2 separate regions of the Homo sapiens genome follow, and region 1 is linked to region 2. The links are contacts of gene promoters, found by promoter capture Hi-C in human tissues and cell types (Jung and others, 2019). All regions are on one chromosome and are shown on one strand. Each heading gives the region's core, a stretch centred on a gene start or on the middle of the fragment in contact. The rest is flanking DNA. Distances are from core to core; before and after follow the strand shown.

The links. The method cuts DNA at HindIII sites, captures the fragments that hold promoters and counts their contacts. A contact is called where the count stands out against the background at its distance.
Region 1: the fragment with the promoter of DPF2 here is called in contact with the fragment with the promoter of GPHA2 in region 2 in 1 of the 25 tissues and cell types used here (heart left ventricle).

Annotation. Positions count from the first base shown.
Region 1 is chr11:65,330,478-65,336,640 of GRCh38, forward strand. It overlaps DPF2 (double PHD fingers 2), which reads left to right and starts at 3,375. Exons shown (of 11, transcript NM_006268.5): 1 at 3,375-3,441. The coding sequence starts at 3,410. RefSeq lists an enhancer at 3,627-3,676 and a silencer at 3,727-3,816. The HindIII fragment of the contact is 14,713 bases long and covers 1-6,163 here.
Region 2 is chr11:64,932,362-64,938,030 of GRCh38, forward strand. GPHA2 (glycoprotein hormone subunit alpha 2) reads right to left here and starts at 3,532. Exons shown (of 4, transcript NM_130769.4): 1 at 3,473-3,532; 2 at 2,997-3,099; 3 at 2,630-2,814; 4 at 2,110-2,513. The coding sequence starts at 3,099. The coding sequence ends at 2,412. PPP2R5B (protein phosphatase 2 regulatory subunit B'beta) reads left to right here. Exons shown (of 14, transcript NM_006244.4): 12 at 404-531; 13 at 784-885; 14 at 1,336-2,114. The coding sequence ends at 1,483. The HindIII fragment of the contact is 7,271 bases long and covers 720-5,669 here.

The sequences.
Region 1 (6,163 bases), core at 2,125-4,624, 400 kb after region 2:
TTTCACCATGTTGGCCTGGCTTGTCTCGAACTCCTGGCCTCAAGTGATCTGCCAGCCTCAGCCTCCCAAAGTGCTGGGATTACAGGCGTGAAACACCACGCCCAGCCCGTAACAGCATTATGTGTAATAGCTCCAAACTGGAAATAACCCAAATGCCCATCAGCAGTAATATGGATTAAACAGCAATGTAAGAACTATTACCACAAAAGGACATGAATGAATCTCAGCCAGGCATGGTGGTTCGCGCCTGTAATCCCAACACTTCAGGAGGCCAGAACGCAAGGAATGCTCAAGGCCAGCCTGGGCAACATAGTGAGACCCTGTCTCTATAAAAAAAAAAATCAAAAATTAGCTGGGCATGGTGGCGTGTGCCTATAGTCCCAGAGAGGCTGAGGTGGGAGGATTGCTTGAGTCAGGGATGTAGAGGTTGCAGTGAGCCAAGATTGTGCCACTGAGATTTTTTTTTTTTTTTTTTGAGACACTGTCTTTTTTTTTTTGAGACGGAGTTTTGCTCTATTGTCCAGGCTGGAGTGCAACGGCACAATCTCAGCTCACCACAACCTCCGCCTCCTGGGTTCAAGCAATGCTTCTGCCTCAGCCTCCCAAGTAGCTGAGATTACAGGCGCACACCACCACGCCCAGCTAATTTTTTTGTATTTTTAGTAGAGACGGGGTTTCACCATGTTGGTCAGGCTGGTCTCGAACTCCTGACCTCATGATCCACCCGCCTCGGCCTACCAAAGTGCTAGGATTACAGGCATGAGCCACCATGCCTGGCTGACGCTGTCTTAAAAAAAAAAAAAAAAAGATTAGTCAGGGTGTAGTGGTGTGCCTGTAGTCTCAGCTACTCGAGAAGCTGAGGTGGGAGAATTACTTAAGCCTGGGAGGTCGAAGCTGCAATGAGCCATGATTACACGACTGCACTCAGCCTGGATGACAAAGTAAGACCCTGTCTTAAAAAAAAAAAAAATCTCAAAAATGTAATACTGTAGACAAAGCATTGTGGGGGCTGAAAAAAAAAAGGAAAAAATTAATATTGAACAAAAGAAGCCAAATTCAAAATAGGACATATTGTATGATTCCATTGACATACAGTTACACAGACACACTAATCTTTAGGGCTAGAAGCATGAGATGGCTACTGAGGTGCTAGTGATGTCTTTTTCTTCATCTGGGTAGTGGTTACACAGGTTTGTCTATTTTGTAAAGATCAATCAAGCTACAATTATTTTGCATGGTATACCTGCATCAAACCATCTCGTGTACCCATAAATATATACACCTACGATGTACCCACAAAAATTAAAAAATTGAAAAAAATTAGTCAAGCTATGAACCCGGAAGGCGGAGGTTGCAGTGAGCCGAGATCACGCCATTGCACTCCAGCCTGGGCAACAAGAGGGAAACTCCGTCTCAAAAAAAAAAAAAAAAAAATTAGTCAAGCTACATAAGATCTATGTGCTTCTCTTTATGTATATTTCAATTAAAAGTTTGAATTTAAAAATAGTACTAATAATAAATAGGCTAGCTGCATATAATTGGAAAGGCAGCTTATGAACCCAGCATCAATAGCTTTCAGTTCTTTTAGGATTGTTTAAGAAAAGGTTACATCAGCTGGCCAGGCGTGGTAGCTCATGCCTGTAATCCCAGCACTTGAAAGCCTAGGCGGGCGGAACACATGAGGTCAGGAGTTCGAGACCAACCTGGCCAACGTGGTAAAACTCTGTCTCTACAAAAAATACAAAAATTAGCTGGGGGCACCTGTAATCCCAGCTACTCGGAAAGCTGAGGCAGGAGAATCACTTGAACCCAGGAGGTGGAGGTTGCAGTGAGCTGAGATAGTGCCACTGCACTCTAGCCTGGGCTGGAAGGAAGAATTTGTTAAGGAGCGACAAGAGCAAAACTCCGTCTCAAAATAAATAAATAAATAAATATAAACAAATAATGTTGTTACGAACATTCTTGTACAGCTTTATTTTTTTTTTTTTGAGACGGAGTCTCGCTCTGTCACCCAGGCTGGAGTGCAGTGGCGCGATCTTGGCTCACTGCAAACTCCGCCTCCCAGGTTCACGCCATTCTCCCACCTCAGCCTCTCCAGTAGCTGGGATTACAGGCGTCCGCCACCATGCCCGGCTAATTTTGTTTTTGTATTTTTAGTAGAGATGGGGTTTCACCATGTTAGCCAGGACGGTCTCGATCTCCTGACCTCGTGATCCGCCCACCGTGGCCTCCCAAAGTGCTGGTATTACAAGCGTGAACCAATGCTCCTGGCCTGTTTTTTTTTGTTTTTTTTTTTTAAGAGACAGGATCTTGCTATGTTGCCCAGGCTGGTCTTGAACCCCTGGGCTCAAGTGATTCTCCCACCTCACCCTCTCAAGTAGCTGGGATTACAGGCATGAGGCATTGCACTCAGCTTCTTGTACAGCTTTCTTGTGTGTATATCCAGGAGTGGACTTTGCTGGGTCATAGGGTATGTGTATTTTCAGCTTTAGTGATTATATTTATATATATATATATATATATACATATGTATATATATACATATGTATATATATGTGTATATATATATATGTATATATGTGTATATATATATGTGTATATATATATGTATATATATTTTTTTTCCTTTTTTTTTTTTTTTTTCTTGAGATGGAGCCTCGCTCTGTTGCCCAGGCTGGAGTGCAGTGATGTGGCTCCAGTGGCTCACTGGAGCCTCAAACTCCTGGGCTCAAGTGATCCTCCCACCTCAGCCTCCCTAGTAGCTGGGATTACAGGCATGCACCACCATGCCCAGCTAATCTTTTTTCTTTTTCTTTTTTTCCTTTATTTATTTATTTATTTATTGAGAAGGAGTCTCGCTCTGTCGCCCAGGCTGGAGTGCAGTGGCGCGATCTCGGCTCACTGCAAACTCCGCCTCCCGGGTTCACGCCATTCTCCTGCCTCAGCCTCCCGAGTAGCTGGGACTACAGGCGCTCGCCACCACACCCGGCTAATTTTTTGTATTTTTAGTAGAGACGGGGTTTCACCGTGTTAGCCAGGATGGTCTCCATGTCCTGACCTCGTGATCCGCCCGCCTCGGCCTCCCAAAGTGCTGGGATTACAGGCGTGAGCCACCGCGCCCGGCCCCGGCTCCTGCTCCTCTAAATATTAGAGGCAAGCCTCGAACCGGAGCTCCGGGATGCATGCCAATCTCCGGTTGCGCCTGCGCGTCGGGCTCCCGTGGGGTCCACGCATTTCCTACCCGGCCCCCGCGAACAGGCGTAAAGCTCTTTCTTCAGTGCTCGCTCTAGTGCGCGCGCCCGGACGGCGCCTGCGCAGAGGGCAAGGAACCTGGTACCCCGGTGCGGTCCCGGCGCCTGCGCGCTGCGGACTGTGGGGCTTCTCGGCCCGAGGCAGAGGAACAGGGAAGATGGCGGCTGTGGTGGAGAATGTAGTGAAGCTGTGAGTGGTCGTTTCTTTCTCTCCTAGGGCGGCAGGTTTTGTAAAGGGCCTGGGAGTAGGGGGCGGTGGGGGAAGGGACTAGGCGGAGAGAGGGACATCCCCGGGAAAGCCATGTTGCGACTCCTGGTGGGGAGGGCAACAGGAGACTCCGGAGAAGACGTTGCGCTTCTTTGGAAACTTGTGGAGGCCCTGGTGGGGGCACACTGGAGCCCCGACGGGCGGCATCCCTGCGGGGCTGTGTGGCCTCAGCGTTCCTCGGGGCTGACGGTTTCCAGAGCATGGCGCCCTGCCTGCACGCGAGACTCACCGTCCCGGTCCTCTCCCGAGACGCCTCAGTCCGGAGGAGCGGGGCCGAGGCCCGGGCGGCCCTACGGCTGGCCCGCCGCCCACCCCGCCCCGTCCCGTCCCGTTCGCTGCAGCAACAGGCTCGGCGGCCCCTGCGGAGTGCACTGCGGGGCTGGCTGTTTCAGTTCCAGGCAGCCCCGTGATGTTTGGGAGGATCTTGGGTGGCAGGTACCTAAGACTACAAATATTCTTGGGAAGAATTTATCGAGGAGCGGATCCAGAAGGGAAGGAACTTCAGGGGAGTGGGCCTTGGCCCCGTCCAGTAGCAGCCATCAAAAACCTGCAACTGGACCGAAGCCGTTCAGGACAGCTTAGCCTAAAGGGGCATCTAGGTGGGCATTCTTCCTATTATACGATACCATTGTGCTGGTCAGATTTCAAGCAAAGTTAAAGTTAATAGCTGTTGGGGCCATGGACGCTGGCCTATGAACTGCTTCCTGTGAGTTAAAGATGCTTTGGGACTTGATTTATTCCTACAGAAGAATCAGAATGAGTTTTAGATTGGGTTAATGCATGGTGGGCGAATAGAGCTTCTTTTAATGGGTATGTTGGGCTTGGTGCAAGGGTGGGAAAATTGAGTGGTGTCTAGCTGTCCAGTCAGGGTTTTTGCATTTTGACTGGATGACGAGGTAAAGGTTCGGTAACTCTTCTAAGGGACTCACAGCTTCTCATCTGTCTTTGTCGTGGCCTGAGCCCCACTCTTCCTAAGAGCCTTTTTAAAGAGTAAGTTGCTTCTCCCTCCTGCCTGAAGCCTTTTCTTTGAGAATGCTTTCCCACTTCCATTAAGCTAAGTGCCTTTCCTCCTCTTGTGGTTTGTTTTTTTTTTTTTTAAGTTGCTTTCTGCTCTATCCTGCTGTCTCTTTCAGCCACCCCTCCTCCCAACGCTATTGTCTTTCTCTCTGATCTGCCCACTCCAGTTTCCCCAGCTCTTTCTTCAGGCTGACATTTTTCTCAATTTAGAAATGACACTGTTGATCTACCATTTATCCAGTTATCCTTCCTGACTCAGATGTTCTTTCTTTGTTTCCCTGCGTCTTTGTTGACTTCCCTCATCCCATTGTAAGGGGATGTTTTACACAGGTTTCTCCAAAAATAAAAAGGAAGATTCTCATTGTACTGGGGGAGTATCAGACTTGCCTAGGTTTTGGGAGTTAAACGTAGTGAGGTTCTTCGTGTTGGAAGATTTTCCTCAGAGAAATAGGGTTGCCAGTGCTTTCAAGTTGTGTCATAAGTGAGGGGTTGCCCATTTAAACAGAGCGTGACATCTTGTTTCTCTTTGAAAAACTGTAGAGATTGTGAGCATCACCAGCCACTAATTCCTGAATGCCAGTAATGAGAAACCAACTCTCTCCTCCTCATTTCTAGCTGCACAGGGCCTCAGATCACAATTAATACGTACTCCCACAGAATTATCCCTTTAAGAAGGGGCTTCTATTCTTCCAGTTCATTTGGAGATATGGCACTTCTCTTGATTATAGTGTGCCTAGTCTTCTGACAGCTGATGTTATACATTGAGTACATTGAGGTCAGGACCACTAGCTCATCTTTTCTTTTTTTTTATTTTTTTAGACAGAGTCTCACTGTTGTCGGCCCGGGCTGGAATGCAGTGGCACGATCTTGGCTCACTGCAACCTCCGCCTCCCGGGTTCCAGCAATTCTCCTGCTTCAGCCTCCCGGGTAGCTGAGATTACAGGTGCCCACCACCACACCTGGCTAATTTTTGTGTTTTTAGTAGAGATGGGGTTTCACCATGTTGGCCAGGCTGGTCTTGAACTCCTGACCTCAGGAGTTCACCCGCCTCGGCCTCCCAAAGTGCTGGGATTATAGGCGTGAGCCACCACGCCCGGCCCCTCATCTTGTATGACTTGCATCTTGTCCTGGGAAAAGAATTTTCTTATTTGTAAATTTCTATCCCTTCCGAATGTGATGTCAGAAATGAAAGTCTTGGCTGGGTGCAGTGGCTTACGCCTATAATCCCAACACTTTGGGAGGTTGAGGCAGGCAGATTGCTTGAGGTCAGGAGTTTGAGACCAGCCTGGCCAACATGGTGAAACCTCATCTCTACTAAAACTATAAAAATTAGTTAGGTGTGGTGGCGCACACCTGTAGTCCCAGCTACTTGAGAGGCTGAGGCACAAGAATCGCCTGAACCCAGGCGGCAGAGGTTGAAGTGAGCTGATATCACACCACTGCCCTCCAGCCTGAGTGACACTTTTAAGACTCTTTCTTAAAAAAAAGAAAGAGGCTGTTGGGCGCGGTGGCTCATGCCTGTAATCCCAGCACTTTGGGAGTCCGAGGCGGGCAGATCACAAGGTCAGGAGATTGAGACCATCCTGGCCAACATGGCGAAACCCCACTCTACCAAAAATACAAAAAT
Region 2 (5,669 bases), core at 2,282-4,781:
CCAGTGGAAGTCAAGTCTTCCTCACAGTGATTCTGGCACTTCGGTTCATTAAACACCTAAAAGTCTAGTATCTCATTTGATTCTTATAACATCCTGTTGAGATAGGTATTATTAGCCCATTTTACAGATGAGAAAACTGAGGCTGGGAGGTTAAATGCCTCTCCCAAGGTCACATGGCATAGTAGAGTCTGTAGTGGTTAGGATTCACCCCGCAGCATTGGATTCCGTATCTAGAACTCTTTTCCCTTCAACACTGTTGCTTCCTCCAGGGCTCAGATAAGCCCTGAAGGTGGGGTGTGTGAAGGTCAGGGGGCCTGGGCGTTGAGGTAGTGATGGACACCAGACCTTGCACACAGAGAGAAGCCACTGCCAGTTAATCACTCTGCCATCTTGTCTGCCCCAGGTTGCAGAGCGGGCTCTGTATTTCTGGAACAATGAGTATATCCTAAGCCTCATTGAGGACAACTGCCACACTGTGCTGCCTGCTGTGTTTGGGACCCTCTACCAAGTCTCCAAGGAGCACTGGAACCAGTGAGTGCCAGGCCATGACCTAACTCACAGAAACTGGGACCAGGGCCAGCCAGTCCAGACCCGACCCCAGGGTTACTCCTAGCTGGAGAATATCAGAGAAAGCATCAAAAGATGGCCCAGGGGTGGTGAAAAGGACAGGAAAGTGGGCAGTGCTTGTGTTCAGGTGGAATGCTGTATGTGAAGGGCAGGGAAAGGGAGAGGTGGGCAAACCAAAGCTGTTTCATCTCCTCATCCCTCCTTGACACTGCCAAGAACCATCGTATCACTGATCTACAATGTGCTCAAGACCTTCATGGAGATGAATGGGAAGCTGTTTGATGAGCTCACAGCCTCCTACAAGCTGGAAAAGCAGCAGTGAGTGTTGGGGGCTGGGCGTGGGGGAAGGGAGAAGAGCAGGGAGGAGTCAGACCCCCATGGCTGGAGGGAACCCGAGGACTACCCCAAACTCTGTCTGATCAGATGCTGCAAGACTGTCCATGCTCCTGCCATCCTATGCCTGACTGTCTGCCCCTGTATCCTCCCGTCATTCTTCGAGTAGCTCAGACTTGTTCTGACTCCCTGTAGCTTCCTACAGAAGCCAGAACCACTCAGGCCCCACCCGTCATCTTCTCTGTGACTGCAGGCTGGGATCTGTCTGTCCTCTGCTCTCTTCCCTCAGTAGAGGGTTTTTATGGAGTCACAGAACAAAAATGGTTCCATGCCTTCCCTTTGCCGGTGGGGTGGTAGTGAGGGAGTCTGGACTGTGAGGGAGTCTGGACTGTGGGGGGCCCCAGGAAAGGGAGCTGCCTCACCCTCTCTCCCCAGGGAGCAGCAGAAGGCCCAGGAGCGTCAGGAGTTATGGCAAGGTCTGGAGGAGCTGCGGCTACGCCGGCTACAGGGGACCCAGGGGGCCAAGGAGGCCCCCCTCCAGCGGCTTACACCCCAGGTGGCCGCCAGTGGGGGTCAGAGCTAGACAGCACCTCAGAAGGGGAAAAGCTAAACCCAGAGCTGTCAGTCCCTCTATCCCTTCTCCTGTCCAGGGGCCCAGAGAGAAACACACCTACCCCTGGCCTTGCCAGAGTGGCTTCTGAGGACTCCCTGCCCAGCCCAGCTTTCACTGGGGGGAGACGAGGAGAGGCAATGGTGGTCTTGGCAACAGAATGCTCAGCCCCTCGTGGCAGGACTTGACAAGGGCAAGCTTGACCAGGAAGCTGCCATCAGGGATCTTCCCCTGCCCCGCAAAGCTAGGCTCCAGCTGCAGGCGGGCTCCCACCCTCTGCTCCTGGCCTTGGGCAAGGGCACTCAGCGCCTCGCCTGCCCCTGCCTTGGCCAATGCGAGGTCCTTCCTTATCCCCACCATGGGGTCCATGGTCTATTTATTCTCGCCCAGCTCACCCTCTACACAGACACTGTCCTGGGTGCACACTCCTCCCTTCCCTCGCTGTGTACTTCCTTGTCCCCTTTTTATTTATTGGGCAGGGGGAGGGGGAGGGCACAGGCAAGAAGAGATTCACAGTGTCCTGGGGTAAGGGGGGGTTCACAGTAATCATGGTCTACTCCTCTTTCCGTGGCTGGGGGTAGACTTAATAAAGAGAGAAATTCAAGAACTGCTTGCTTTATTTAGGGGTAAGGGCAAAGAGGGAAGTAAAATGATGAAAGATTGGTTTAGAAGGGCCAGGCAGAGGCAGGGAAGAAGCAGAAACTCCCCTCTTCTCAGGTGACAGTCACAAAATCTTACAAAGGATCAAAGCTGGAACAACCCTCCCCTTATTTAAAAAAATTCCATAGCAAGTAACCATCAGGGCTGGAGCTCCTTCCAGTTTTTGAATCTTGAACACAGGTTTCCCCCACCAGAACGTCAAGCCCTGTGACCCAGGGGAGGAAGGAGGGGAGAGGATGGGCTAGTAGCGAGAGAGGCGACACATGTCACACTGGCAGGCCCTGGCCGTGAAGATCTCGAGCTCCTCCCTCCGGCTCCCCACACACTGCAGCTGTACTTTGACCTGCGGGAGAGGGGAGTCCGTGCTGCAGTCCCCTTTCTCAGGGCTGTCTAGGATCTCCATCTCTCTGGTCTTCCCGCGACCCCAGCGTCCATCCACCGGGCCCGGGCCCTCCTCACCTTCTTCAGGCCACTGATGGTGCAGCACTGAGAGACGGAGGTGATGTTGTGTCGGTAACCACTGGCCACCAGCACAGAGTACCGAGAAGGGAAGGCGCTGGACTCACAGTGGCCCACACAGGCCTGTGCCACGTGGGAGCCCTGGCAGGTGCCTTGGCGGTCACTTCGCACTGTCACATTGAAGGCTAGAAGGAGATAGGCAAGCAGTAGACGGCGCCTCTGCCAAGGTTTGCCTCGCCCCAGCTCCCGTTGCCTGTGCCTCAGTGTGGGGCCCTTTAGGGTGCTGCCTGCCCCACCGTCCACTCAGCTCTTTGCTCCCACCCAGAACCTCCACTGCTCCTAGCCCTCCGGTCCCAGAGGTACTCACGGTGCAAGTGGCAGCCTGGGATGACTGCCTCCTGGCCCCAGGCTTCAGTGACTGCCAGGACCAGCAGATAGAGGACCAGGGTTTGAGGGGACGCCATAGGCATCTGAAACACAGTGGGGAGATGTCTCTACGTGGGTGTGCAGGTGGGATGGCGAGTTCTTTAAATACTGCATTCCAGGTGAGTGAGCCAGGGCTGGCTGGTCTGACAGGTGAGGTGTGCCTGAATGGTGCTGCCTTTTCCCTGTATCTGCCTTTGTGTGTGTGTGTGTGTGTGTATGGGTGTGAGTGTGAGCAGCTGTCTCTGGAAAGGACCTGTGTGTCAGCCCTCTGTGCAGTGATTCTCCCTTCCCTGGAATTTTCTTCGCCATCTGGAGCGCAAACATCTTCCTCCCTCCATCTGCCCCATCTTGGCCTGCAGGGCCCTCGTCCACATTCCCAGACCCTCCCCAGAGCTCCTCCTGCCTCAGCGAGCTCACCACTTCCGAGGCCCAGGAACAGAGCGGCTTGCAGTTTTCCTGTGCCTCCTGCTGGTCTCCAGCTTGGTGCTGGCTCTCCAGGCTTTTATTTGCCAGCATTTTGGAGCCACGCCCTCTTGGAGATCGGCTTTCAAACCAGCCTCCCCTGCCTGAAGCCTCAGAGCGATCCCACCTGGGGGATCTTGCTCTTTGAGGTGCGGTCCTCGGAGAGCAGCTCCTGCTGCTTTCTGCTTCTTTCTGTCCAAAAAGCTACCCACAGCCCAGGCCTCGATAAGTCAGATGTGGAGAGAAGCCTAGGAGCTGGTGGAGTGTGCAGCGTGTGTGCAGCTGACGACACAGGGGTCAAGACTCTTGGCTGAGTTGTGGACACCTGGGTTCTCTTTGCTCTGTGACCTTGGACAGAACATTTCCCTGTTCAGGGCCTGATCACCCCTAACTTTATTATTATTTATTACTATTATTTTGAGAGGGTCTGGCTCTGTCACCTAGGCTGGAGTGTGGTGGTGTTATCTCGGCTCACTGCAACCTCCACCTCCCAGCCTCCCAGACTCAAGCCATCCTCCCCCTTAGCCTCCTGAGTAGCTGGGACCACAGGCACACCACTATGACCAGCTAACTTTTGTATTTTTTTGTAGAGACAGGATTTTGCCATGTTGCCCATGGTGGTCTTGAACTGCTAAGCTCAAGTGATCCGCCTGCTTAGGCCTCCCAAAGTGCTAGAATTACAGGCATGAGACACTGTGCCTGGCCACACCCCTAATTTTAAAACCACTAAACTCAGTCCTGCTTGCCTTTTTCTAACTGCAAAGGAAAGGGATTGGGGAAGGAGATTCTTAGGGACAAGGGAAATTATACCAGTGGAGGTCTCCTGAGATGTGCTTGGTGGCAGGGCCGGGGGTTTGGGGGTTGCTGTCTGTTTCAGAGTTGCATGGCCACGGTATCAGTGGATGATTCGCATCCTGTGCTACAGAGTAACGTTCTGAGCTGGAGTGCTCCCCTAGCCCTGGAATAACAGGGACCTGACTCCTGAAAGGGCCTGAAGTTATCAACCCCAGCAAAGCTGATCTATTTGTCCAACTCTGGTTTTATAGATGAGGCAACTAAGGCTCAAAGAAAGAAAGTTACTAAAAGTCACCCAGCTAGTTAATGTTAGGGCTGATTTCAAATTCAAATCTGCTGTCCATCCATGGTGCTAAACTACACTTGAGCAAGAATGTGGCAAGCTGGAGAAAGACCCCCAGGCAGCAGTGGCCAGAGGGGTTGGGGCAAGGTGGAGAGCCAAAGGAAGCCTGTGGTGATTCTGGGCAGCCCCGCTTTGGGGTCATTGCCTCACTGATCTGCTCAGAAAGAGCAGGGCCAGTCACAGACTGCTAGAGCTAGAAGGCACTTTATAACTCACCAAATCCTACCCCCTCATTTTCTGGATGAGAAAATAAGAGCTCAGCGGAAAACAACTTCCCAAAGCTTCACTGTAAGCTAGTCAGAGTCAGGGCGGGCACTCACAGCTCCAGATTTGGAGCTGTGCTTCTTAGCAGCTTTGTAAAACAGGCCATGTTTGGGACAGTCGAGTAAAGGCTGTAAACGCAATTTGAGAGGAAGTGATGTTACTAATGTCACTAATCCTTAAATTCCCACACCCTACGGTTTCCCCATCAGCCCCCATCCCCTCAAGACCTGGGTCCTTGTTTGCCAGGTCCTCCGCAGCAGTCCACCTCTTCTCTTCTCCCCACCAAGGGTGCAGGCAGCATAGCAACAGGACGCAGCGGGAACTCAGCAGTTCAGCCCCTGCTCTCCCACTCTTGAGGGGCACCCTCTGGCATGTGACAGATGATGGCTTCTGTTTAAAGCATTTGGGTGACAAGGCTCATTACCTTATGAGGTAGCCCATTCTAATATTGGACATCTCTAACAGGTAAAAAGTGACTCCTTTGTTGTGAGCTAAAATGAGTTTCCCTACATTTCCATAGATCATTTTGGTTCTCCACGGCCACATGAGGCTAAAGTGTCTATTACAGATCAGTCCTTTAGTTGAAGGCAGCTCAGGTGGCCAGGCCTTCTCCAGGGGTGCCAACCTGGATTGACTTCCAGTTAATCTGATAAACGAATCTGCATTACTGTCAAACAGTTAAAGGGATAGAGAGGTGGGAAACATTTTGTCTATGGAGAGGCAACCATTTGGGGCCAAACTGGAACTGGG